Linked DNA regions of Homo sapiens: all the other regions are linked to region 1. Evidence: promoter capture Hi-C in 16 types of primary human blood cells and fetal thymus (Javierre and others, 2016). All regions are on one chromosome and are shown on one strand. The core of a region is centred on a gene start or on the middle of the fragment in contact, and the rest is flanking DNA. Distances in the headings are between cores, read along the strand shown.

Region 1 (4,544 bases), core at 1,285-3,784:
TAAAAGACTGCATGGAGGCATTATGGAATAGCACAGGCTTTGGGATCAGATCTGGGTGAAAACCCCAGCTCTGTCATGCAGTAATAGCAACTAACCTGTATACAGCATATGTGCTAAATTGTTATGTTCTCTATTTTGTGATGCCCTTGCTGTATGGGTCTATGACTATATTACCTTTTATTTTTTTTTTTTCTTGGTAGAGATGGGGTCTCCCTATGTTGCCCGGGCTAGTCTTGAACTCCCGGCTGAAGAGATCCTCCTATCTCGGCCTTCCAAAGCACTGGGATTACAAGCATAAGCTACTGTGCCCAGCCCAAACTTCAAAAAAATTAATAAATCTTGTTCATCCTTCTCTAGAACTTTTCTCCCCCTAGATGAGGAAATAGGCTTAGAGAGGATAGGTGACTTGTCTAACGTTGCACAAGAGAGCTGGAACTTGAATCCCTAGAGGGCACACCAGAGTATTTCTTTAGCGCTCTATTTTAAGCAATATTGGTTATTGTAGTTGTGTGACCCTGAACAGATTGAATTTTCTGAATCTTAAGTTTCTGTGTCTAAAATAAGAGAATATCAGGCAGGGTTAATCTCACTATTAAAAATAGCACACACAAAGCACCCAGTATCTGGTCCAAAGCTGCCTTTTATTAAGGGCTCATACTCATAGGCCATTTGTTCAAATTCATTGTAGTTGGGAAGAATAATCCAAGGCAATGTATAATTGCTAACATAGTGTAGATTTTGTAAGTACAACACATCTGGACAAGGAAATGTTTGATGTAGGATGGAGTAATTGGGGAAGATAAAGAGGAAGTGTGAATTAAGTGTGGACTGGAATGATGGGATTTGTATGTCTTACAGAGTTAAAATAAGCAGAGATCACTTGGACACAATGTGAAGACTCGAGGATCCTTTTTGGGAAGGCGTAAGAAATGAATAGGTCCTGTTTTATTGACAATATCTGCCATATATCAGTGAGGATTGGTCAATTATGGAAGATGCTAAAAAGCAGGCAATGGATTTTTAATAAGGAATATAATAAATGTATTTCAAGATTACTTCCCTAGTGAGTTGATGATCCCCCTTCGTCTGACACAAATTATTCTCGAGTTCTTTCCTCTCTCTGGCTTGATAATATGGGTGGAAACTGTTAGTTGAGATTGAGGTGATTTGTGGTTCTGTGACTTTAGGATTACGTGAAATACTAATTTGGGGGACCAACAGAGATTTGACATTTTTTCAAAGCAATTTTTCAATTCCTACTACAATTTACCGTCAGTATTACTTCATAAATGGAAAGTCATTTTACCATTAAAGATGTAGGTAGGACCATCTCAGAAGAAAAGACAACTCTTTACACCAAATACATTTGGTTTTGTGAAAAACTAGTATCCTAATTTTTGCCGCTTATGGAGATCAATGAGAGATTTTCCCCACCCCAATGTTGACATGTACTACTCGACGCTGTCATATTATTGAGGCATAAAAGATGTTCTAATAAAATGGAAGTGACTTAAGAGAAAGTTTTATGCCTCCTCCCAACTCTGAACAGATGCTGAGAATATACCAAACAAGTTCACACAGGAGTAGAGATTTAGAGAGGCCTTCCCACCTTCAAGAATTTTATAATACGTTAATGAGCTGAGTCTTATTTTCAAGGATGGCTTTGTTAAAGCAGAAGAAGGGTAACTATGCTTATGAAAGGCAGTTTTGCATGCCTGTTTGTCAAAAAATACAGTACAATTTATTTTAAAATTGATTAATTGGTGTAGAACTTGCAATGGTCACACAATCAGGATGGTCAGCTTCCATTCAGGGATCAAATTTGTCCAGGCCTTTCAAAATGGAACACGTTGCTTTTAGTATGGCATTGGTTCTGTTTGTAGTGCTGATTTTTCTTTCATGGTAATTAAAAAAAAATCTTACTTTCTTAAAAGCCTGCACCCAAGCTAGTGAGCTTTTCTGCAGAGGATTGAGCATCCAAACCATGCTTTATTTTGGTGGATTCTTAGAGTTTTCTGGCTGGGTCCTTTTTGAGGGGTAGCTGTGAGCTGTGAGACAATTTCAGCAAGATGTAGGGACAAGGATCGCATTCGAGGTGGCTTAAAAGGAAACACGTTTGTGAGAGTTGCCTCACTGTCTCACCTGCTAGAAGAAATTGGGAGATTTCAGGGCTTGTTTTCGGTCCTGGCGTGGTGCAGAGGTGGAGGGGCGCCAGCAGGTGTGTGGTATGCAGGACGCAGAGCCAGGAGAACCTGGGGCAGGTGTCTGGAGCCGGGGGTGCAGTTCCTACTTTTAGACGCATGGTGGCGCTAGGGTCTCCTCCGGCCCTGCTAGCAATCTCTAAGGCACCTCCGCCGCCACCTGCAGTCTCAACCAAACCTCTGGGTGGGCAGCGCGGGATGTGACGGGCCGAGCGTCCAATCGACTGACAGATTTCCGTCCACACTACTGCTCTAGCCAATGGGAGCCGAGGAGAGGCGCGGAGGAGGCGGGCCCCGCGGCAAGCCTGGCAGAGGCGCGAGGCCCTCCTCCCGCCTCTCCGCCTACTCCAGCCTCCGCCGCCTCAGCTTCCCGAGCGAGCCCTGCGGCCGCCGGAGCAGCTCCCGCGGCGGAGCAGGAGCCGGATGGTCAGAGGAGCCCGGCAGCCCCAGCAGCCGCGGAGTCGCCTGGCCCCCAGGTGCGGGGGCTGGGTGGAGGCCGGGGTTGGGGATGGGGTGGGGGCCAGGGAGCGGGCCCAGGGGCAGCGGCTCGGGGCGGTGGAGCATTCGGGGCGCAGAGACCGGAGGGGCGGGGGGTGCAGGCTGGGGGGACCTTGGGGGCGCCTGCAGGCGGCGGCGCGGGCTGGGCGCGATCGCCTCCTCGAGGCCAGGTGAGAGGGGCGTGTGAGGGAAGGGGCGCCGAGGGGTGAGGCTGGCGGCGCGGGGCCGGGAGGGGCAAGGCGGGCGCGCCCCCGGAGGGGCCGTGGAATGCGGGGGTCGCCGGGCCCGGAGAGGCGGGGCGTGGAGGGGGCAGTGCACGGTCGGGAACGGGTGGGCACAGGAAAGGGGAGGCTAGGGGGGCTTGCGGGGGTGACGAGGCAGACAATGAGTAGGTGGAGGTGGGTGATTTTGGGGAGCTGGGCTGTGACGAGCAGGGGTCGAGGATGGGGTGAGGGACCAGGAAGGTTTGAGCTCAGGGGGAATTGGGGGAACGGTGAGTCCCAGGAATGCTAGGTCTTGGTAAATAGGGGAAACAGGGCATGAGGCGTTTGTAAGGTCAGATCTGGGCTTGGCGAGCCTGTGGTCCCAGAGGGTGGTCTATTTAGTTCTTGACTGGCACGGTAGCGCCGGGAGATGTTTTCTTGTATGTTACTTTTAGTTACCGTCTTATTTGTTTGGTCTGCAGACTGACTGGCACAGTGGAGAAACCGCCTCGAAAACGGAGAAGCAGGTAAGGCAGTGCCTTCCTATTTTGCTTCATGTTTTTCTTTTTGCTTGGCTGCACCTGTGCCGTACTGCATAATTGTATACTGTCAGTAGATGAAGTTTCTTATTTATCCCCCTTTTAAAAGAATATAACCACATGCATGATTTTTCTTTTGAGGACTTCAAATTACTACCTCTACAGTCGATTTTTTTTTTCTTGGTATCTAAGATAATGTGGGAAATCTTGAGAAATCCTACTTTTTTACTTTTTGATGTTGTGTAAGGATCTCAGCTATTTTTTTTTTTAACCTTAGCCATAATTTCATTTTCTCCAGCATCTCTGTTTAAAAAGCTCATCTTGGCTGGGGTGGCTCATGCCTTCAATCCCAGCTCTTTGGGAGGCTGAGGCAGGAGGATCATTTGAGCCTGGGAGTTCAAGACCAGTCTGGGCAACAGAGCAAGACTCCGTCTCTACAAAAAATTGAAAAACTAGCCGGTCCCATAAATATATACACCTACTATGTACCCACAAAAACAAAAAATTAAAAAAACAAAAACCAACTAGCTGAGCGGGTGTTGTGGACCTGTAGTCCCAGCTTCTCAAGAGGCTGAGGTGGGAGGATTGCTTGAGCCCAGGAAGTCAAGGCTGCAGTGATGCAGTGAGCCGTGATCATGCCACTGCACTCCAGTGTGGGGAACACAGCAAGACCCTGCCTCAAAAAATAAACTAATTTTATTGAGCATCTACTATGTGCCAAGTACTGTGTACGAATGCTCTATGTGTATCTTCTCCTGTAATCCTCAAAGAACCCTAAGAGAATATGTAGTGTCACTATTTTACAGAAGAGGGAACTGCGACACAGAGAGGCCAAATATTTACCCAAAATCATGCATCTAGTAAAAGATAAAACCAGGATTTGAATCCAGACAGTCTGACTCCAGAGCTTAAGCTCTTAACTGTTATACCATAATGCTGCTAATAAATATGCAATTGAAAGTAGGTTTTCTTATTGCTTTATCTTTTGTCGTTGGACACTGTGTAGTTAACTCGAATGGTTGAACCTTAGGAAAATAGAAGCAAAGAGTTTAAGTAGTCCACAAACAAAGTGAATTAGTCCTTGAGTAATGGAGATGAAGATA
Region 2 (4,544 bases), core at 1,471-3,970, 250 kb after region 1:
CCCTGCCTGAGATGGAGCTTTTAGGACTTAGGAATGAGAAAAAAATAGGAATTGTAGATGACACCTAGGTTTGGTTTGTATAACTCAGAGTTTCTCCACCTCAGCGCTATTGACGTTTGAGGCCGGATGGTTCTCTGTTGTAGAGGTTCTCTGTTGTGGATGGTTCTCTGTTGTGGATGGTTCTCTGTTATAGAGGGTCTCTGTTGTGGAGGGTCTCTGTTGTGGATGGTTCTCTGTTGTGGGTGGGTCTCTGTTGTGGGTGGGTCTCTGTTGTGGAGGGTTCTCTGTTGTGGAGGGTTCTCTGTTGTGGAGGGTTCTCTGTTGTGGAGGGTCTCTGTTGGGGATGGTTCTCTGTTGTGGAGGCTCTCTGTTGTGGAGGTTCTCTGTTGTGGAGGATCTCTGTTGTGGATGGTTCTGTGTTGTGGAGGGTTCTGTGTTGTGGAGGGTTCTCTGTTGTGGAGGGTCTCTGTTGTGGATGGTTCTCTGTCGTGGAGGCTCTCTGTCGTGGAGGCTCCCTGTCGTGGAGGCTCTCTGTCGTGGAGGGTCTCTGTCGTGGGTGGTTCTTTGTTGTGGAGGGTCTCTGTTGTGGATGGTTCTCTGTTGTGGAGGGTCTCTGTTGTGGAGGGTCTCTGTTGTGGAGGGTTCTCTGTTGTGGAGGGTCTCTGTTGTGGAGGGTTCTCTGTTGTGGAGGGTTGTCTGTTGTGGAGGGTTCTCTGTTGTGGAGCGTCTCTGTTGTGGAGAGTCTCTGTTGTGGAGGGTTCTCTGTTGTGGAGAGTCTGTTGTGGAGGGTTCTCTGTTGTGGAGAGTCTCTGTTGTGGATGGTTCTCTGTTGTGGAGGGTTCTCTGTTGTGGAGGGTTCTCTGTTGTGGATGGTTCTCTGTTATGGAGGGTTCTCTGTTGTGGAGGGTTCTCTCTTGTGGATGGTTCTCTGTTGTGGATGGTTCTCTGTTATGGAGGGTCTCTGTTGTGGAGGGTCTCTGTTGTGGAGAGTCTGTTGTGGATGGTTCTCTGTTGTGGAGAGTCTCTGTTGTGGAGGGTCTCTGTTGTGGGTGGTTCTTTGTTGTGGGTGGTTCTCTGTTGTGGATGGTTCTTTGTTGTGGGTGGTTCTCTGTTGTGAATGGTTCTTTGTTGTGGATGGGTCTCTGTTGTGGAGGGTTCTCTGTTGTGGATGGGTCTCTGTTGTGGATGGGTCTCTGTTGTGGAGGGTCTCTGTTGTGGATGGTTCTCTGTTTTGGATGGGTCTCTGTTGTGGAGGTTCTCTGTTGTGGAAGTTCTTTGTTGTATTTGCTGCAAATATGCATGATAAGATGCTTAGGAGCATCTACCCACTAGATGTCAGTAGCAGCCCCACTTAGGACAACCACAGTGTCTCCAGACATTGCCAAATGTCTTGTGGGGGCAAAAGCACTGCTGGCAGAGAACCACTGGGGTAACTGAATGAATAGGGTACGTACCATTCACTGAGATGGGGGTCCTGGGAGGTATGTCAAGAGTGGATTCCATTTTGGGCATGTTGAGCTTCAGAGGCCTACCCAACAGGCATATCTAGTAGTCTGTAGGCTGACAAGTCTGGAAAATTGGAGCAGATTCTGAGTAGACATATAAATTAGGAAGCCTGTGTGCCTATAGTTCCAGCTGCTTGGGAGCCCAGGAGGCGGAGCTTGCAGTGTGCAAGATCGTACCACTGCACTCCAGCCTGGATGACAGAGCAAGAACCTATTTCAAACACACACACACACACACACACACACACACACAAAACTTTAAATTAGGAAACCATCAATCAGCATAGCTCATAGGCAAAATTACAGCCAAATGGCTATCAATGAGTGCAGATAGAAAAGAGGCCAAAATGAAGGCCAGGGCCACACCCACAAGCACAGGCTCAGAACAAAAGGAGGGGCCGACAGAGAAGACGCCAAAGGAGCCGCAGGTAGGGTAGCAGTAAAAGCAGGTGCATGTGGGGCTCTGGAAGTACAGGGCAGAAAGCGCTACAAGAAGGATTGAGTAGTGAACTCTGTGATATGCTGCCAACTGGTCAAGAAAGGAGACAAAGAGCTGACCATTAGATTTGACGAGACTGAGTTTGTTGGCAACGCTGGGAAGAATAGTCACCGTAGAGTCGTAGGGAATATGGTTGACGAGAGCAGGTTAAAATGAGACTAGAGAGATGCTTCCACTTGCAGTAAAGGCAAACTAGGTAATTCAGACCAGCTCACCTGAGGACTCCCAGAAAAACTGGCCAAAATAAGAGAACATCTGCTTGTAGGAGCCTACAGGACTGAGGAATGGCCCATCCTGCCCAGGGACGGGAGTCCAGCATGCAAAGCAGCTTTTGCCGTGGTGGTATCTGCTGATCCTGAAGAGGCTGGAAGTTTATCTAAGTTTTTCATAGTTTCTCAGAGTTAGGGGAATAAAATTTGGAGTTTAAATTTTATTAAAGCTTGGATCCAGCCTGGGAGATCCTGAAAGCTTTGGTTAGGCACACCACAGGACTACACGCTAGGAGTAAGCTTGAACGGGAAGTAACCAGCACCCCATCTGCACCCCGCCCCCAGCTTTGATTGCACTAACTGAAGGACACGGGGTGGCCCAGGAAAAGCCCATTAGCTAATTTTGGATTAAAATGATCCCAGGTTATTAGTGCTCCTGGGTGACTAGAAAAAACAAAATCAAAGATAGGTAAACAAAAATACAAAACAACACAAAAGAAACAGACTCACAAGGGCTCAGATATCATATGCTTACTATGTTTAAGGAGATAAAAGACAAAATTTAAAATTTCAGCAAGATGTGGAATAGTTCTATTATTATAGTTATGATAAAAGACAGCAGTTTTAAAAAAGGAATCAAATAGAACTTTAGACCTGAAAAATAGAATAACTGAAATTAATACAATAAATTACAAAAGGACAGGAGGAAGCTTTCTGGGGGATGGGTATTTTTACTATTTTTATTAGGGTGATGGTTTCATCACAGTTCATCAAGGCATACACCTGTAGTCCCAGCTACTCAGGAGACTGGGGCAGGACGCTCTCTTGAGCCTAGAAGGTCGAGGCTGCAGTGAGCTATCATCACAAACTGGACTGCAGCCTGGGTGATAGAGCAAGAACCCATTTCCAAAAACATAAAAATTTAAATGTAAACATATAGAAAACTCTTATATGTTTACATTTAAGAAATACACTTTCTTTTTTTTTTTTTTTGAGATGGAATTTCTCTCCTGTTGCCCAGGCTGGAGTGCAATGGCGTGATCTCGGCTCACTGCAACCTCCGCCTCCTGGGTTCAAGCGATTCTCCTGCCTTAGCCTCCTGAGTAGCTGGGATCACAGGCATGCACCACCACACTAGGCTAATTTTGTGTTTTCAGTAGAGATGGGGTTTCTCCATGTTGGTCAGGCTGGTCTCGAACTCTCAACCTCAGGTGATCCGTCCACTTTTGCCTCCCAAAGTGCTGGGATTACAGGCGTGAGCCACCATGCCCAGCCTGAAATACACTTTCAAATAACCCATAGGTCAAAGAAAAAAATCACAATGGAAATTTTAAAATATTTTGAAATAAAGTTGGGCACAGTGGCTCACACAGTGAGCTGAGATTGTGCCATTGCACTCCAGCCTGGGTGACAAGAGCAAAACTCTGTCTCAAAAAAATAATTATAATATTTTGAAATAAATGATTTTGTAAATACTGTGGATCAAAATTGGTCAAGTATAACTAAAGCAGTGCATGGAAGGAAATTTCAGTCTCAGTGGCATCTCTTAGGAAGAAAGCCTGAAAATTGAGCCATGTATGCATCTCAAAAAGTCAGAAGAAGGCACAAATCAAACTCAAGGAAGAAATAACAAATATAAGCACAGAAATTAATGAAATAGAAAATAAAATGGGCCCGGCGTGGTGGCTCACCCCTGTAATCCCAGCACTTTGGGAGGCCAAAGCGGATGGATCACATGAGGTCAGGAATTCAAGACCAGCCTGACCAACATGGTGAAAGTCCATCTCTACTAAAAATACAAAAATTAGCTGGGCATAGTGGCACATGCCTGTAATCCCAGCTACCTGGGAGGCTGAGGCAGGAGAATTGTTTGAACCCGGGAGTCAGAGATTGCAGTGAGCTGAGATCGTGCCATTGCACTCCAGCCTGGGCAACAAAAATGAAACTGTCTCAGGAATGAAGTGAAGAAGGGAGGGAGGGAGGCTGGGCGCAGTGGCTCAAACCAGTAATCCCAGCATTTTGGGAGGCCAAGGCAGGTAGATCACCTAAGGTCAGGAGTTTGAGACCAGCCTGGCCAACATGGCGAAACCCGGTCTCTACTAAAAATACAAAAATTAGCTGGGTGTGGTGGCACATGCCTGTAGTCCCAGCTACTCGGGAGGGGGAGGCAGGAGAATCGTCTGAACCCAGGAGGCAGAGGTTGCAGTGAGCTGAGATTGCGCCATTGCACTCCAGCCTGGGAAACAAGAGAGAAGCTCCATCTCAAAAAAGAAAAAAAAAAACAAAAGAATGGGACCCTCTCATAGTAGCGAGGACTGCTGAAGCCTGAGG
Region 3 (4,544 bases), core at 856-3,355, 230 kb after region 1:
AAGTCAGACATTAATCAGTAATCACATATATAATTACTAACCGTGATGAGTGTTCTGAAAGAAAACTACGAGATTTAGTGAGATCCTATTAAAAGATATCAGATCAGGGCTGGGCTTGGTGGCTTACGCCTGCAGTCCCAGCACTTTGGGAGGCCGAGGCAGGTGGATCACCTGAGGTTGGGAGTTCGAGACCAGCTTGACCAACATGGAGAAACCCTGTCTCTACTAAAAATACAAAATTAGCTGGGCATGGTGGCACACACCTGTAATCCCAGCTACTTGGGAGGCTGAGGCAGGAGAATCGCTTGAACCCAGGAGGTGGAGGTTGCAGTGAGCCGAGATTGCACCATTGCACTCCAGCCTGGGCAAAAAGAGCGAAACTCCGTCTCAAAAAAAAAATATATATATATATCAGATCAGATCCAGTTGGAGCCGTAGAACACTTAAGGAAGTAACACTCGATACAGTGCTCAGGCTGGAGAGAAAGGGATGATGGGAGAGAATTTCAAGCAGGGAACAGCATGAACAAAAACTCTGAGGCAAATAAAAGGATTAGCACATTCAAGGAACTAGAAGAAAGCCAGTGACATACAGAATAAGAGAGAATAACAGATTACTCTGGCCGTTAGGAGACTGAGAGGGTCTTCCACTTAGGAAGCTTTTGCAGTTGTTCGACCGTAAGATGATGGAGGCTTTGACAAGTGTGGTGGTGAAGATAATAATGGGTAGACAAATGTAAGAACTATTGAAGAGATTGACAGACTTACTAATGTAATAGATATGGGAGGACAGGAAGAGAAAAGTCTGTATTTTTATGGGTGATTTATGGGCTTCTGGCTTGGGCAAAAGAAGGGCTGGTATTGTGTGAAGATTGTAAATTTGGAATTTGTTTTTTTCTTGTCTTTATTGAGTATATATAAAAACATATTTATAAAATATGAGTATGATAGAAAGTATAATAAGGCAATGAGCCCTCTGAGCTATCCCTCAGGTTAAGAAAAAGAACAATGTGTTTATCTTTGAGGTTCCCTCTGTGCCCTTCACTATTCCATCCCATTCCTTTTTCCTTTGGAAGTAAGTACTATTTGGAGATTGCTTCATTGTCTACTTTGCTTTCTAATGTTGTCAGTTTTATCCCTAAACTATCTTCTTTAGTTTCCCATGCTTGTTAATGTTATATAAATCATTCTGTAGGTATTTTTCTAAACTTACTTTTTGTGCTCAACATTGCACTCCTGAAAAACATTCATATGATACCTGGAGCTATAATTTATTTTTTCTCAATTATATAGTAATATAGTAGGGACATACCAAAATTTTAATTTTTGTCGATGGTGGGTTTTTTTTTTGTTTTCGTTTTTTTTTTTTTTTTTTTTTTTTTGTGTGTCAGGGTCTCACTCTGTCACCCAGGCTGGAGTGCAATGGTGCAATCATGGCTCACTGCAGCCTCAAATTCCTGGGTGTAAGTGATCCTCCTACTTCAGCCTCCCATATATCTGGGACTACAGGCTTACACTACCACACCTGGCTAATTAAAAAAAAATTTTTTTATAGTTAAGGTCTCACTATGTTGCCCAGGCTAGTTTTGAATTCCAGGACACAAGCAATCCTCCTGCCTCAGCCTCCCAAAGTCCTGGGATTACAGGCATGAGCCACTTTGCCTGGCTTGTGAAGATTTTTAATTACTGAATAGATTTCCTTAATGGTAATTCTAAGTTTATGTATTTCTTCCTAAGTTTTGTTAATTTATATTTTTCTACATAATTGTTCATTTGCTATAAGTTTAATGTTTTGGCATTGTATTTCTTATATTCTTTTTTTAGTTGCTCCCCTATCTTCATTCATAGTAGTATTTATGCATTTTCTATTTTTTTCTAGTTTATTCTTACCAGATGTCTGTCAGTTTGGAAACAAAATTTTACTTTAATTCTTTTCATTTTGTTTTTATTTAACCCACAGTGTTCAGAATTACACATTTTTTACTCTACTGGATAGCAGTTCCTCAACTGTAGCCATTATCTTTCAACTTCCCAATTTATGTTCTTCCTAACCTGTATTGTACTTAACACAATATTTTCATGGAATTCACCTTACTTTTTTTTTTTTACTTAAATAAGTATATTTATGTATTTATTTATTTATTTATTTATTTATTTAGAGATACAGTCTTGCTCTGTTGCCCAGGCTGGAGTGCAGTGGTGTGATCTTGGCTCACTGCAGCCTCCACCTCCCAGGTTCAAGTGATTCTCCTGCCTCAGCATCCCGAGTAGCTGGGACTATAGGCACATGCCACCATGCCCAGCTAATTTTTGTATTTTTAGAAGAGACAGGGTTTCACCATATTGGTCAGGCTGGTCTTGAACTCCTGACCTCTTGATCTGCCTGCCTCGGACTCCCAAAGTGCTAGGATTACACACGTGAGCCACCACGCCCTGCCATTTATTTTATTTTATCTATCTATTTATTTATTTTTGAGACAGAGTTTTGCTCTTGATGCCCAGGCTGGAGTGCAGTGGCGCGATGTTGGCTCACTGCAACCTCAACCTTTTTTGTTTTCAATTTTTTTACTTTTGTAGAGAAAAGATCTCCCTGTGTTACCTGGGCTGGTTTTGATCTCCTGGCTTTAAGCAAGCCTCCTGCCTCGGCCTCTCACAGTGCTGGGATTACAAACATAAGCCACTGGTCTCAGCACCATAAATACATTTATAATGAAGGAAAAAAAGGCATGTTGGGAGAACCAAAAGGATAGACAAGTGGTTAACGCTTAGAAAGGAAGTGGAAACGGTGCTAGATGAGGCTGGGAAGGTATGCAGGGCCAGTTGTATAGACTAAATAGTGAACATGAAATTTCATAAATAATCATTAGTGAATATTTAACAAGAATAGCTGAGCATTTACCCTGAGCTCAGTATTCAAGAGCTTTACAGATAGGGACTCATCGAGTCCTCACAACTACCCTTTGGTTAGACAGTGTTTTCCTATTTTACAGGTGATAGTAATGGGCATCTGACATCAAAGGCTAAATGATTTGTCAAGACCGTACAGCTGGAGTCAATGACAGAGCCAGGATTCAGACTCATGTCTGTCTGAATCAAGTGACCACCACCCAGAATTGATGCAGTCCATATTCTGGGACTATAACTGTGAGACCCAGACTCGGGAGGGAGTAGGTGAAGAGGGTGATCATTAGGAAAGGGGCAGGTTTGATGTCAGGGAGTATGGCTTGGTAACTGTTCCCGTAGTCCACATGAGGTGTAGAGGGCCTGAAGTAAATCAGCCAGCCTGGAGAAGGAGATCGCATATCAATATGTTGCACAAGAGGCATAAGTGGAACTTGGCCACTGATTCTTTTTCTGTCCCTAACTTTGCCTAACACAGTGACCTGTGTAAGATGTGTTGTTTTGGTTTTAACTGGAATGGGTCATCTATACCTCTTGAATTCAGATTGATGTGTAGGGGAACAAATGCAGACTTTGGATCCAGAAGACCTGGATTTAAATTCTTCATCTATCGCTAATAGGTATATGCCTTTGGGCTAGTCCCTAAGCTTCAGTTTCCTTGTAAATGGATGTGATAAAGAGCATTTGTAAGGACTAGACATAATAGGAAGTGCTTGCAGCGTTCCCTTGACCCTATATGTCTGTCTTTACGCTATTACCACACTGTCTTGGTCATTGTCACTTTAGAGTTGAAATCAGGTAATGTTCTCCAACTCTTACATCAACAGTTACTCTTTTTCTTTCCTTTTTTTTTTTCTTTGAGACGGAGTGTCGCTCCTCGCTCAGGCTGGAGTGCAGTGGCGCGATCTTGGCTCACTGCAAGCTCCGCCTCCCAGGTTCACGCCGTTCTCCCGCCTCAGCCTCCTGAGTAGCTGGGACTACAGGCGCCTGCCACCACGTCCGGCTAATTTTGTTTTTGTATTTTTAGTAGAGATGGGGTTTCACCGTGTTAGCCAGGATGGTCTCGATCTCCTGACCTCGTGATCTGCCCACCTCAGCTTCCCAAAGTGCTGGGATTACAGGCGTGAGCCACCACGCCCAGCCTACAGTTATTCTTTTTCAAGATTGCTGCAGCAATCTTGTTATAGCTGCTTCTGCTATATTACAGTTATAACTATTGCTAGTATTAACATTAGTAATAAGAGACCCATAAAGATGGGTCAACATGGCCAAAACTGGCTTTTTTTTTCCTATCACACTCACTCACTTTCCTGTGTTATCCACCTTGCATAATGTTACCATTTGCCCAGGTGTCTGAGCCACAGACCTGAGAGTTGTGTTCAGCTGTTCTTTCCTCCTCACCCAGCCTCTAGCCTTGCAGGACTTGTCTGTTACCTCTTTGTATGTGCTGCCCTTTATGCAGAATGATTGTTCCTCTTCCACCCTCTTTCACCTGGACTTGCCCATTCAGGAGGCCTGATCTGATTCTCCCAGTTAATCCCTCTTGCATCTCATATCTCATAGCACGGTGTGTGTCCCTCTGTTGAAGCACAGTTGTTTTGTAATTAGGTGTGTGTCTGTCTCCACCACCAGCCTCCATGCTGG
Region 4 (4,544 bases), core at 858-3,357, 230 kb before region 1:
GAGACAGGGTTTCACCATGTTGGCCAGGCTGATCTCAACTCCTGACCTCAAGTGATCCGCCCGCCTTGGCCTCCCGAAGTGCTGGGATTACAGGCGTGAGCCACCATGCCAGGCCATGAAGAAGGTTTTGGAACTCGAGGCATGGCCATGACTAACAACACAGGCGCCTCCCCAGAGCACCTTCCCAGAGAATGGGACAGGTGGCTCCCACAGTTCTCAGGACTGTGTCCAGTGAGATCTTACAGTGTTGGCACCTGTGGGCTGGGCTCAGGTCACTGGCTGTGGCTCAGGGCTGTTGCTGCATCTGTAAGATTGGAATAATAACCTTGTCGTTGGGCTGCTAGAGAAAAGCTTTATATCGGGAATAATGATTATTTGCCACAACGCAGGGTGGGCAGAGAGGAACCTGGTGTGTCTGCCTCGGGGGGCCTGGGTGAATTCTGGGCTCCAGCCACAGCTGTCTCATGAAGGGCTTGGTGCAAGCCCATTCGGGGTCTGAGAGCCGATTCCCTGTTCAGGAGCCCCCTGCCCTCCTGGGCATCCTCGAAGGCGCCCCAAGGCTCCTCCAGAGAGGGCTGAGGGCTGCCTTTGCTCCTCCTTTTCAGCCAATGGTTTGTACCTGTCCTTGGCCACAAGATGTCACCCAAGGAACAGCAAAGCCGGGGCCTGGGAGGAAACTGGCCGACGGCAGACTCGCGGGGGAAGGGGTCGGGGATGGTGCGGAGAAGCCGCAGAGGCAGCGTGCTGCAGTGGCTGCAAATCTCGGGATTTCTAGCAGAACGGGGCGCTGTTGCCCTCAGAGGACGCCGATTTGTAGATGCCACCTAAAGATAATAAATTCGAAAATAATAAGTAAATAGGGACAAAAATCCCACCTTCCCAGAGTAAAATTAAACCCTGCTAGCCAGATAAAGGGCTGCAAACAGACAAGACACTTTGGTGTGATCAGGGCTGCAACCCAGGCAGGCACTGAGCTGGGCTCCAGGCATCCTCATCCCGGCCCTGTGCTTGGTGGGGTGGGAGCAGACACAGGAGAGGTGTGACCTGGTGTGGCACAGCCTCTGCCCCACCTAATTCTACCCACTGGAGATCAAGGGCTTTGGGGCACTCTGTCTTCCCAGAGGACGTGAAGAACTACCTGGCCCTGGACCACGACAGGGATAGTTCCTGTCCCAGCAGGGCCTGAATTTGGAAGGAAAAGATGGTGGAATCCCCGCCCTGAAGGGCTACTTTCTGCCTCTCATCCATCCCCATCTGCAAACATTAGGGACACCTGCCATTTGGAGGCATGCCCTCCCCTAGGAGCACAGGCTCCAGGGAGACACTGCTCTGGAGAGGGAGGGATGGGGGTGAGGCCTCACTGAGGAGGGAGGCAGGAGGGGGCACCTGGGGTTTTCCTCCAGAAGGGCCATCTGAGGCAGGAGGAAGGACTGTGGGGGAGGCAGTCAGATCTGGGCATCAGCAAAGGCTTAGAGGCCGGCAAAGGGCAGCACTTTGGGAAAGGTGATAGTTCTCAGTGGCTGGAGTGGGGCTGGCTGGAGGGGAAGGAGAAGGACCAGAGGCATGTGGCTGAAAAGGCAGGACAGAACCCAGGTAGAAAAGAGAAGATTTTAGGCAGAAGAGGAATCTGCTCAGACTTGATGAATTTTTTTGTTTGTTTGTTTTTGAGGTGGAGTTTTGCTCTTGTTGCCCGGGCTGGAGTGCAATGGCGTGATCTTGGCTCACTGCAACCTACGCCTCCCGGGTTCAAGTGATTCTCCTGCCTCAGCCTCTCGAGTAGCTGGGATTATAGGCATTCACCAACACGCCCAGCTAATTTTGTATTTTTAGTAGATACGGGGTTTCTCCATGTTGGTCAGGCTGGTCTCGAATTCCTGACCTCAGGTGATCCACCCACCTCGGCTTCCCAAATTTCTGGGATTACAGGTGTGAGCTACCGTGCCTGGCCAGACTTGATGAATTCTAAGGGCACCTAGGAGAAGGGGTGAGAGGGAGGCAGGGAGACTAGGAGTCAGTCGTGATTGTGGAGGTGGAAAAACTGGCTGTGGCAGCGGGGGACAGGTTTAAGAGACATTTCCCAGCCAGGCGCGGTGGCTCACACCTGTAATCCCAGCACTTTGGGAAGCCAAGGCGGGTAGATCACTTGAGGTCAGGAGTTCGAGACCAGCCTGGCCAACATGGTGAAACACTGTCTCTACCAAAAGCACAAAAATTAGCCAGGCATGGTGGCGTGTACCTGTAGTCCCAGCTTCTCAGGAGGCTGAGGCAGGAGAATCGCTTGAACCCAAGAGGCAGAGGTTGCAGTGAGCCGAGATTGTGCCACTGCACTCCAGCCTGGGCGACAAAGTGAGACCCTGCCACACACACACGCACAACACAAAAGAGACATTTGCCAAGGGCCCCTCAGGAGGTTTGGGCAATCCAGAGCCTGGGCCAGGGAAGAAGGCTGGGCAGCGGCAGGCATGAGTGACAAAGAGGCGTGTAGGGTGGGGCACATAGGGATGAAAGTATCTGGACCCAGAAAGGCATCATGTGTCAGGAATCACTCCACTGTGGTTACTGTTTATGACCACAGTGGAAAGGGACTTGAGCTCACAACCCAGCCTGTTAGTTGATAAACTGCCTCCTGGGTACAGTGTCCAATATTTGGGTGATGGGTAGGCTAGGAACCCAACCCCATCATTATGCATGTAATACCCATGTAACAAACAAGCACAGGTACCTCCTGAATCTAGAATAAAATAAAAAAATGGGTTCTCTTGGCTGTCCATGGTGGCATCACCCCTGCCATCAAGGGGCTGCACCCCACTGAGTACTTGCCGCCCTTGGCCAAATGCCTCAGTCAGACGCAGATACCAACCAGCAGGGACTGGCAAGAACTGTGACAGCTGCAGGGCTGGGTGCTGCTGCTCTTGCCTTTGCAGGTCGCTGTGCGTCGCAGTCCTGGAAACCTCTAGAACAAGGATCACAGAAGCAGTAGAGAACCTTTGAACTCCTAGCCTGTCATCCTATTACAAAGGAGGATTTGAACAGAAAATGAGTAGGAGAAAAGCTAGTGTTATTTTAGGTGTAAGTTCACCTGCTGGCAAGGCTAAGATTAGAGCAGCTCACAGGAGAATCGTGATTTTGAATCACCCAGATAAAGGTGGATCTCCCTACTTAGCAACCAAAATAAATGAAACAGAAGATTTGCGAGAAGCGACCACCGATCACCGATGGATGCTCAAGAACCCCGCTGAGGAAAAAAGGCAGGGCGCCTTTAAAAAATCCTGCAAATCAATCTACAACATGATCTTCTTAATTTTCATACATGCATAGACCACAATCTTTTCTTCTCCCATTAAGCTATTATAACAATAAAAGATTAATAATGTCCAGGCGCGGTAGCTCACACCGGTAATCTCAGCACTTTTGGAGGCTGAGGCAGGAGGATAGCTTAAGCCCAGGAGTTGAAGACCAGCTTAGGCAATATAGCGAGACCCCACCTATAAAAAATACAAAAAAATTAGCCAGGCGTGGCGGCATGCACCTGTAGTCCCAGCTACTCAGGAGGCTGGGGTGGGAGGATCACTTGAGCCTGGGAGGTCGAGGCTGCAGTGAGCCATGATCTTACCACTGCACTCCAGCCTGGGTGATAGAGCAAGACCCTGTCTAAAAAAAAAAAAAAAAAAGATAAATAGTAACAACCACCAAAAAGGGCTCTGAGTGTCTGCCCTGTGCACAGGTGGTCCTTGTGCTCCTGGCAAGTCCAGCGCAGGCCCTCCCTGGCAACTGCCCTGCTGACCGGTGTCAGAGGAGGCACCTTTCCAGGATTCCCTGGCCTGTCTCCTCACCCACAATATACCAGGTTAAAAAGAAGCTTGGGCCAGGCACAATGGCTCATGCCTGTAATCCTAGCACTTTGGGAGGCCAAGGCGGGCAGATCACCTGAGGTCAGGAGTTCGAGACCAGCCTGGCCAACATGGTGAAACCCCCATCTCTACTAAAAATACAAAAATTAGACGGGCATGGTGGCATGTGCCTGTAATCCCAGCTACTTGGGAGTCTGAGGCAGGAGAATTGCTTGAACCTGGGAAGTGGAGGTTGCAGTGAGCCAAAATCGCGCCATAGCACTCCAGCCTGGGCAACAGAGCGAAACTCCGTCTCAAAAAACAAAAAGCAGCTTGGGGCCTGAACTTGTGTTCAGTGGCAAGACTATCAAGTCCCCTCTTGAGTCAGCTCAGTGGGCAGCCTTCCTGATCAAGGGTTCCGGACACCCCCGTGCTCCTGGCAGCCTCCACTGTGTCCCTGCACTTTAACCACCCCCTCCATTAAAGGCCAGTACAGGAGAAATAGTTCAAGATTTTATGTAGATGGTAAAACTGCAGGGGATCCGTGAGGTAATAAAGCCCAAATCAGGAAACGCCTTCAAAGGAGTTGCCACTTGCCTTAGGTCTGGTTAGAGACAGAGCTCAGATTAGATCCATCTTCCAGTTCCTGAGCCTAGCAACATAACCAAACACCGCTGGGAACCTGTGGCTTTTCAGTAATGGCGGGAGTGGCCC
Region 5 (4,544 bases), core at 1,067-3,566, 180 kb before region 1:
TTACTGCCAGAAGGTCCTGCTCCAAGTTCTGACACAGACTCTCCTTCTAGGTCTAGGGAGGACACTGAATTGGAGCGATTTGAAGGACCTAGAGAAATGTTTATAGTGTGAGCAATCTTTTTAAAACAGTCATGAGCCACCACACAATTTTTCATGCCTTGATAAAAGACTAACAACTGATTAAAGTGTTTTTAATACTTTTTATACCTTAAAAAAACACATGCCCTTTGAGAAATTCTGCTTCTAGGAATTTATCCTAAGGTGCTAATAACAAATTAATCTGCTGGGTGCAATGCCTCATGCCTGTAATCCCAGTACTTTGGGAGGCTGAGGTGGGTGGATCATGAGGTCAGGAGATCGAGACCATCCTGGCTAACATGGTGAAACCCAGCCTCTACTAAAAATATAAAAATTTAGCCAGGCGTGGTGGCGGGCACCTGTAGTACCAGCTACTCAGGAGGCTGAGGCAGGAGAATGGCGTGAACCCGGGAGGCAGAGCTTGCAGTGGGCCGAGATCGCGCCACTGCACTCCAGCCTGGGCGACAGAGCGAGACTCCATCTCAAAAAACAAAACAAAACACAACACAACAAAACAAAACAAAAAATATAAAAATTAGCCGGCCTGATGGCACATGCCTGTAATCTCAGCTACTTAGGAGGCTGAGGCAGGGGAATTGCTTGAACCCGGGAGGCAAAGGTTGCAGTGAGCTGAGATCGCATCATTGCACTCCAGCCTGGGCAACAAAAGTGAGACTCCATCTCAAAAAATAATAATAATAATTAATCTAAAGTTGCTTGTTATAGAGCTTTTTCTTCTTTTTTTTTTTTTTTTTTAGAGAGAGTCTCGCTCTATCGTCCAAGCTGGAATGCAGTGGCACCATCTTGGCTCACTGCAACCTCCGCCTCCCTGGTTCAAGCAATTCTCCTGCCTCAGTCTCCCGAGTAGCTGGGACTACAGGCACACGCTGCCACACCCAGCTAATTTGTTGTATTTTAGTAGAGATGGGGTTTCACCGTGTTGCCCAGGCTGGTCTCAAACTCCTGAGCTCAGTGAATCCACCCACCTCGGCATCCCAAAGTGCTGGGATTAGAGGCATGAGCCACTTCGCCCAGCCCAGAAGTTATTATGTCCAAAAAGTGGAAGAAATCTATAGATTTAATCACAGAAGAAAGTTGAAAAAAATTATGATATGCCATGTGAGGTTAAGGAAAACAGCCATAAAAACCATGTTATTTAAGAATGTTAAATTACAAAGGGAAATGTTAATGCCATATTATTAAATTACAAAAGGTTACAAAACAGGATAAACCTAATTTTGCTGTGAATAATCTAAAACGTCAACTGCTATCAACAAAATTTTGAGATTATAGGTGATTCTATTTCTCTGTTTTGTAGAATGAACATACATTACATGTCATTTTTTTGGAAAAGTCAGATTAAAATATGAAGTTATTATATTTTAGGTTTCTTTTTAAATGTCAGTAAATTTGAACTATTGTCTTTAAATAAAAAAAAACCCGGGGCCAGGCGCGGTGGCTCACGCCTGTAATCCCAGCACTTTGGGAGGCTGAGGTGGGCGGATCACGAGGTCAGGAGATCGAGACCATCCTGGCTAACACGGTGAAACCCCGTCTCTACTAAAAATACAAAAAATTAGCCAGGCGTGGTGGCGGGTGCCTGTAGTCCCAACTATGCAGGAGGCTGAGGCAGGAGAATGGCGTGAACCCGGGAGGCGGAGCTTGCAGTGAGCCGAGATTGCGACACTGCACTCCAGCCTGGGCAACGAACGAGACTCTGTCTCAAAAAAAAAAAATTGGTACTAGTAGGCAAAATGACATATTCTCATTTCACAATCTTGGCTTTGAATTTTCTTTTTAATACCTATTTCCATTGTCTTCTGCTTCATAAAGGTATGTGTGAGTGTGAGTAAAGGAATACAGAACATTTAAGAGTATGTGCAACATATTGAAATACTAGTAAGTCCATTTTTTCCCGTTTCGACATGCATGATATCCTTCTAAAGGAGCTCTATAAGCTTTGGTATATATTAATACTGCAGAAACAGAACTTGCTGTTATTCTATTTAAGTCTGAATAAAGACATATCTTCTCCATTTTATATGACCAAAGGCATCTTGCAATTTTAATTTTATTCAGGAAACAATCTTTACAGCCAACTGTTCAGGCTCATTAGAGGAAATCTTCATTAGTCTCCTCAGTGAGAAGCACAGATGGTATAATTATAATTTATAAGCTCCTTTAAAAAACACAAAACAAACTATTAATTGAACCACACAACTCCTTGAATGAAGTAACCCTTCACCTTCAGATATTCCTTCCAGATTATCACTGCAGAGGGAAAAGCGCAAGGTTTTATCAGGTTTACCATGGAGTTTGTTTTCATCAACAGGGACATCTCCTTGTCCTCCATCCGAAAGCTGCATGTTTAGGACCTAAAAAATAAAATGTCAATTTTGGTTTATCAATGGAAAGATTACTGATAAGGAAACAAACCACAGCAAATGCATATTTAACTCCTTAATCTTAAATTATCAATTTTTAACTACAAACCTATTTAGAAGGTCTGTCAAGCTTTTAAATACCTGTGGAATAAAAGTATATAAATTAAAGCAGCTGAAGCCATGCCTTTCCATTACCCTACGAGTGTTACAGATAGAACAGGCAACCAGACTACCAGATGAGTAGTGGTGAGAATTATACAAATCAGAAGTCTTTGGTGTCAGCACGCTGGTCCTTCTAATTCTGTCATGTGTCAACTATGTAACCTTGGATAGGCAAGTTATTGAAATTCTCTAAGCCTCAGTTTCTTCATCTATAAAATGGTGACAGTAACAGTATGTATGCCATGTAATTGTTGAGAATTAAGTAAAAAGATGCACATAAAACAGTTGTCATGTCACGTATTAAATTTGCAAAATTTAAAGAAAGTAAATCAACAAGGCTGGGCGCAGAGGATCACGCCTGTAATCTCAGCACTTTGGGAGGCCAGGGCAGGCAGATCACGAGGTCAGGAGATCGAGACCATGCTGGCTAACATGGTGAAACCCCATCTCTACTAAACTACAAAAAAAATTAGCCGGGCTTGGTGGTGGGTGCCTGTAGTCCCAGCTACTCGGGAGGCTGAGGCAGAAGAATGGCGTGAACCTGGGAGGCGGAGCTTGCAGTGAGCCGAGATCGCGCCACTGCACTCTAGCCTGGGCGATACAGTGAGACTCCATCTCAAAAAAATAAAAATAAAAAATCAATAAATAAAATTTTTAAACATACTAAATTTGCAAAATTTAAATAAAATTTAAAGTAAATAAAAGTAAATAAATTCAACTAGAAGAAAACGTGTAATCATGTTATTTTGTAGGCATCAAGATTTAATCCATCTAGTCTGAACGTCCACTTGATCACAACATACATACAGGGCCACAAAAGTCCACACCAGAAACTAAAGTATGACTTCACAGACATCTCCAGCTTAGACTGATGGCCTTTTTATATGCTTTCCATTTGCCAGATGACTTCCAAATAACATAACTACATCTCACTACTCCCTACAAGCCTCACAACTCAGCTTTGTGTGTATATCTCCACCTTAATGAAGAATTAAGTGCTTTGTTGAAAGTCACATAGCATGTTTTAGGTACACCTTGGACTTGAACTCAGAGGCCTTGGCTCCCTTGGCTGTTGCTGAAATATGAAGGAAGAATAGTACCCTCACTTACAAAGAAAAAAACTTACCACAAAAAATGAAAAATATGTGAGGCGATACAGGTTATTTAGCTTGATTCAGCCATTCCACAATGTATATCAAAACATGTATACCATAAATAGATACAATTTTGTCAGCTAAAAGATAAATGATTTTTAAACAGAAAGAAAAAAAAAATTCTTGGTTGCTGTTTTGGCTCTGAGTAAATTAAAGGTTTTGAAATGGTTTTATACATTTACACATGATGCCTTTAAATACAGGTTTTTTGGCTGGGAGCGGTGGCGGCTCATGCCTGTAACCCCAGCACTCTGGGAGGTCAAGGCCGGTGGATCACCTGAGGTCAGGAGTTCAACCTGGGCAACGTGGCAAAATCCCATCTCTACTAAAAATACAAAATCAACCAGGTGTGGTGGTGTACGCCTGTAATTCCAGCTACTTGGGAGGCTGAGACAGGAGAATCGCTTGAACCCGGGAGGTGGAGGTTGCAATGAGCTGAGATTGCACCACTGCACTCCAGCCTGGGTGACAGAGCAAGACTGCATCTCAAAAAAAAAAAAAAAAAAGTTTTTTTTTCCCTATTTGCTTGAAATTAATAGACATAGGCCAGGCGTCGTGGCACACACCTGTAATCCCAGCTGCTCAGGAGGCTGGAGAATCACTTGAACCTGGGAAGTGGAGGTTGCAGTGAGCTGTGATTGCACCACTGCACTCCAGCCTGGGTGACAGAGGGAGATTCCATCTCAAAAAAAAAAATTAAATACACATAAAATTTTTATTAAAAAAAATTTTTTTAAGATGGAACTCATTCTGTCGCCCAGGCTGG
Region 6 (4,544 bases), core at 848-3,347, 170 kb after region 1:
TAACCTAACTGGCACAACTTAAAGTGTTTCTTTTATTCACATTTTTACCTTGTTGTGATTTAAAAATAAAAGAACCTCTTCTAAGTCTGCCAGAGAGACAGGTTAGTGTTTTGGCCATTTCTTCAATGGCTGAGAATCAAAAGACTTTTTGTCCTTAATAATTTGTCTTTAATTAGTGACACATAAAATCTAATTCTAACTCCCAGTCATTTAGTAGGTAAAATACTAAACAACCTTAACACTGTTTTAGCAGTACTTGTCACTGTTTCACTATCTCCCTAACTGTGAATAGTGCTGATGTCTCTCTGTGGGAGATGGCATTTTACTGCTACTTCCCAGCCAGAAGTCCTGTCTGCTGACATAGTTTGACACAGGAAGTGATGGTCAGCATTTGAATGCCTGAGAGAAGCTGGAGGCTTTCACCGTTGTTTTAAGGTAAGTTCTGCTGTTTAACAGGGAAAAACATGTAGAAATATTAACTTCATGTATCCAAAAGTAAAATTACTAAGGGATAGAACTTACCTTCAAACAACGGTAAAATTCTCCTGCTTTGAAGATTTTGTTATCCTGTTTCTTATCATTTCTGGAGGAATGTAATCTCTTTCAGTTACTGAGCAGTACTTTTTGCTATCAATCTGTCCTATCATTATGTAGTTTTATTTAAATTTACATGGTCAAATAGGTTAATACCAAGATTATTCGGTCTGAAAGACTTCATTGTATAGAGGAGAAAAACAGACTTTGGAGGCAAACTGACTGAATTTGAATCCCGACTCAGCCACTTACTTGCTGTGTGACCTTGGGAAATTATTCAGCCATTCTGTGCCTCAGTTTCTTCATCTATCAAATGGAAATAATAATAGTATCTACCTCATAGAATAATGCTGGGTATGTAGTAACTACTCAATATGTGCTGTCATTATTATTATTATGCTTAGTTGTAATACATGTCCTTCACACATTTTATCCGGTTTCCTATCTTCATGCTACAAAGCTTAGACCTCTAACACCTTAAATTAATTGTTCAGTTACAAAAGCAGATTCAAAATTCTTCTGTGAGAAATGTTTTGGATTTATCCATAGGCATAATTGCTACTCACCTCTGCAAAAGGGGAGAGCCTTCCATGTGGGTGCAAAACTAGCTGATCAGTAAGCACTTCTGAGATCTAAAGCCTATAGTTTTCTCATTAGCCAAGAGTTACTTCATTTATTCAATTTTTTTTTTTTTTTTTTTGAGATGGGGTCTCACTCTGTCACTCAGGCTGGAGTACAGTTGTGTGATCATAGCTCACTTCAGCCTCTACCTCCTGGGCTCAGGTGATCCTCCCACTTCAGCCTCTCAAGTAGCTGGGACCACAGGTATACACTACCACACCCAGCTAATTTTTGTATTTTTTTTTTGTAGGGACTGGGTCTCACCATGTTGCCTAGGCTGGTCTCAAACTCCTGGGCTCAAGAGATCTGCCTGCCTTGGCCTCCCAAAGTGCTATTCAACATTTATTATCAGGTACTGTGCTGGGCACTGGAGATAGCACTATGACCTGACAAGCACAGTTACATTCTTCACAGAGCCAAATGTCTTGTGGCAGATAGACAGAGCCTGATGGGCGGTTATTATAAGTGATTCACAAGAGGATGCCTGCAAATGGACGAGGAACTCCTGACTAGCAGCACAATGAAGACGAGGGAAGGGGATGAGATAATGTCTAACGTGGACGTTAAGAACATGGAGAACTAGATGGGGGTGGGAAATGACCGAGCAAGAGTGTTCCAGCTGAGAATTTGCATGTGCTGTGGCCATGAGATAAGACAGCTTAGGGAGCATGTAGAGAAATTTATTTTATTGTATTTTTTTGAGATGGAGTCTTGCACTGTCGCCCAGGCTAGATGCAGTGGCGCAGTCTCAGCTCACTACAACCTCTGCCTCCCAAGTTCAAGCGATTCTCCTTGCCTCAGCGTCCCGAGAAGCTGGGATTACAGGCGCTCGCCACCACTCCCAGCTAATTTTTTTGTATTTTTATGAGAGACTAAAAATGTTGGCCAGGCTGGTCTCAAACTCCTGACCTCGTGATCTGCCCGCCTCCGCCTCCAAAAGTGCTGGGATTACAGGCGTGAGCCACCGTGCCTGGCCTAATTTTGTATTTTCACTAGAGACAGGGTTTTGCCATGTTGGCCAGGCTGGCCTTGAACACTTGACCTCAAGTGATCCACCCACCTTGGCCTCCCAAAGTGCTGGGATTACAGGCGTGAGCCACCACACCTGGCCAAGCACATAGAGAAATTAGTCATTCCTTCTAGCTAAAGGGTAGAGTTTGAGATTGTGTGATTGAATTGTGAAAGAATTTCTAAGATTTGTTAAGTAATTTAAGTGGAAGACAATGGGGTACAGGTTGAGCATTCTTAGTCCTAAAATCTGAAATGCTCCAAAATTCAAAAGTTTGAGTATCAACACGATACTGAAAGTGAAAAATTCCACATATCAGTACTTAGCACAAGGTTTGTTTCATGTACAAAATTATTTAAAATATTATGTAAAGTTACCTTTAGGTTATGTGTATACGGTACATATGAAACATTAATAAACTTCGTGTTTAGACTTGGGACCTGTCCCCAGGACATCTCATTATGTATATGCAAATATTGCAAATCCCAAAAAACCCAAAATCCAAACACTTGTGGCCCCAAGCATTTTGGATAAGGGATACTCAACTTGTACCATCAAAAGATTTAAACAGGAGAGTAGCATGAAAGAGCATTCAGTTAATGTCCTAGAGAATGAACTTGGGAGGGGCATGGATGAAAATAGGGAGATGGCTGGAGATAGCACAATGACTAGTAGCCAGCTGCAAAGATACTAAGCCCATAGAACCATAGAACCAACAGGACTTTGTGATGGACTAGGTGTGGGGAGGGAAGGCAGGAATAGACTTCCAGGTTTCTGGCTGAGATGCTGGTAGAAATGATAATACCTGATGAGAAGCATATTTGTAGAGAACAAAAGGGGAAATAATTTGCTTTGAGTTGTTGACATGTTGAGTTTGAGGTGCCTTTGAGAATTAGGTTGAATAGAGTAGCCTAGAGCAGCAGTACTTAAAAGAAGTAAGAGTGTGAGTCATTAAATTTTCTATTACCTATATCAAAAACAGTAAAAAGAAACAGGTGAAATTAGTGTTAACAATGACATTTTGTACTAAAGCTTTGAAATCATCTAGTCACATTTTACTCATCTAGTCACATTTTTAGTGTCCAGTATTTTACTCATCTAGTCACGTTTTTAGTGTCCAGTATCTACCGCAAGACAGAGCAGTGCCAGACCTAAGGAATTCAATTTAGGCTGCTGATAGAGAATTAGAAATTTGTAGGCATATAAATGGTAACTAAAATCATGGGAGTGAGAGCAGTCAGCAATGTATGGGGCCAAAGAAAGAAACTACTCATATTTAAGAGATAGGAAGGGAAAGAGCAGCTCATAGAGAGCAACTCAGAAGAGAATGAAAAAGACTGGCGTTTGTAGCACTCATCAGAGAATTCTATCAAGATAACCCATAATCCAACACTTGCCATATTTGGATGAAATTTGTTAATTGAGAGCAAAAAATAGTAAGAAATATCATTTTCCATTTCTCTTAAGTTTTCTAGGCTCTTTCTGAAGTTTGTTCAGCAGAAAGCAACATAGCAAAGTTTTTGTAGTTTCGTGAAGAATCTGCTTTGATGAATTATGATTTAATGAGATAGCTTTAATTTTATATATTATCAGTATATTAAAATGTTCCTCATATGTATCTCTTATCTTTTGCAAAACTATTGTCTATATATATAACATGTTTGTTATTACAGATCAATCTCAGCGAGGTAGCCTCTTCACTCTCTTTTTGAACAATCCTCTAATGGCCTTCCTATTTGTCTCTGGATTGTCAAGCATGCGCAGAGGCCTATGGGAAAAGTGTCAAGAATATCTTCGAAAAATCAACCGTGATATTGCCCAGCTACTGACTCATTCACGTTCAATAGGTACCCTCCTAATCTAACTGCACGTTTAACAGAATGTACTATAATGGCTTAAAATGGTTACTTATTTTAAATTGTTTGAATTTTTAAAGGTATGTGTCCCAGGCAGGAAAGTTGAGAACGCTTTCCTGAAGTTTCCTTCCCCTTTGAAACATAATTTCCATTTAAGCATCTTTTTACTGTCACTTTTCTCCTCTTTGCAGATCAGGCATTTCTCCAGTTTTTTGGAGATGAATTTCTTCGCTTGCTCCTCACAAGATTTATCTTTTGTTCAGCCACCATGAGGATGCACAAGATTTTTCGGGTAGGCAAAGAACATTATTAAAGACGAATTTTATCATTTTAGGTATTTAAGAACCATGTATTATATTTTACCTGTATAAAATAAGGTTATAATAAAATAATATTATTTTGGATAAATTCAAAATAATATTTACAAATGTACCGTCACACTGGTCTGCTAAGTAAAAAAATACATTTGAATACGTAAAGTATAAAGATTAACAATATTAAGGCACATTTGAGTACCTATCGTT

The links. The method cuts DNA at HindIII sites, captures the fragments that hold promoters and counts their contacts. A CHiCAGO score of 5 or more calls a contact.
Region 2: a fragment that was not itself captured here is called in contact with the fragment with the promoter of SCAI in region 1 in 6 of 17 cell types (megakaryocytes, endothelial precursors, M2 macrophages and 3 more); the score reaches 7.9 in megakaryocytes.
Region 3: a contact is called between a fragment that was not itself captured here and the fragment with the promoter of SCAI in region 1, in 5 of 17 cell types (M0 macrophages, endothelial precursors, M2 macrophages and 2 more). The highest score is 7.2, in M0 macrophages.
Region 4: a fragment that was not itself captured here is called in contact with the fragment with the promoter of SCAI in region 1 in 5 of 17 cell types (endothelial precursors, megakaryocytes, M0 macrophages and 2 more); the score reaches 8.2 in endothelial precursors.
Region 5: a fragment that was not itself captured here is called in contact with the fragment with the promoter of SCAI in region 1 in 1 of 17 cell types (naive CD4 T cells); the score reaches 5.1 in naive CD4 T cells.
Region 6: a contact is called between a fragment that was not itself captured here and the fragment with the promoter of SCAI in region 1, in 8 of 17 cell types (megakaryocytes, total CD8 T cells, naive CD8 T cells and 5 more). The highest score is 7.6, in megakaryocytes.

What each region holds. Positions count from the first base shown.
Region 1 is chr9:125,141,518-125,146,061 of GRCh38, reverse strand. SCAI (suppressor of cancer cell invasion) reads left to right here and starts at 2,534. Exons shown (of 18, transcript NM_001144877.3): 1 at 2,534-2,677; 2 at 3,385-3,429. The coding sequence starts at 2,625. RefSeq lists a silencer at 2,416-2,915. The HindIII fragment of the contact is 9,654 bases long and covers 1-4,544 here.
Region 2 is chr9:124,891,595-124,896,138 of GRCh38, reverse strand. The region is part of intron 15 of GOLGA1 (golgin A1); the gene reads left to right. Among named protein-coding and RNA genes, the nearest start is that of ARPC5L, 32 kb to the right of the region's middle. The HindIII fragment of the contact is 410 bases long and covers 2,516-2,925 here.
Region 3 is chr9:124,913,715-124,918,258 of GRCh38, reverse strand. The region is part of intron 10 of GOLGA1 (golgin A1); the gene reads left to right. Among named protein-coding and RNA genes, the nearest start is that of GOLGA1, 25 kb to the left of the region's middle. The HindIII fragment of the contact is 2,889 bases long and covers 661-3,549 here.
Region 4 is chr9:125,370,994-125,375,537 of GRCh38, reverse strand. No RefSeq gene overlaps it. Among named protein-coding and RNA genes, the nearest start is that of GAPVD1, 110 kb to the right of the region's middle. RefSeq lists an enhancer at 3,960-4,460. The HindIII fragment of the contact is 3,508 bases long and covers 354-3,861 here.
Region 5 is chr9:125,319,342-125,323,885 of GRCh38, reverse strand. GAPVD1 (GTPase activating protein and VPS9 domains 1) reads right to left here. Exons shown (of 28, transcript NM_001282680.3): 10 at 2,324-2,453; 11 at 1-88. Among named protein-coding and RNA genes, the nearest start is that of GAPVD1, 60 kb to the right of the region's middle. The HindIII fragment of the contact is 556 bases long and covers 2,039-2,594 here.
Region 6 is chr9:124,971,138-124,975,681 of GRCh38, reverse strand. SCAI (suppressor of cancer cell invasion) reads left to right here. Exons shown (of 18, transcript NM_001144877.3): 16 at 3,838-4,011; 17 at 4,212-4,312. Among named protein-coding and RNA genes, the nearest start is that of GOLGA1, 32 kb to the right of the region's middle. RefSeq lists an enhancer at 30-588. The HindIII fragment of the contact is 2,202 bases long and covers 997-3,198 here.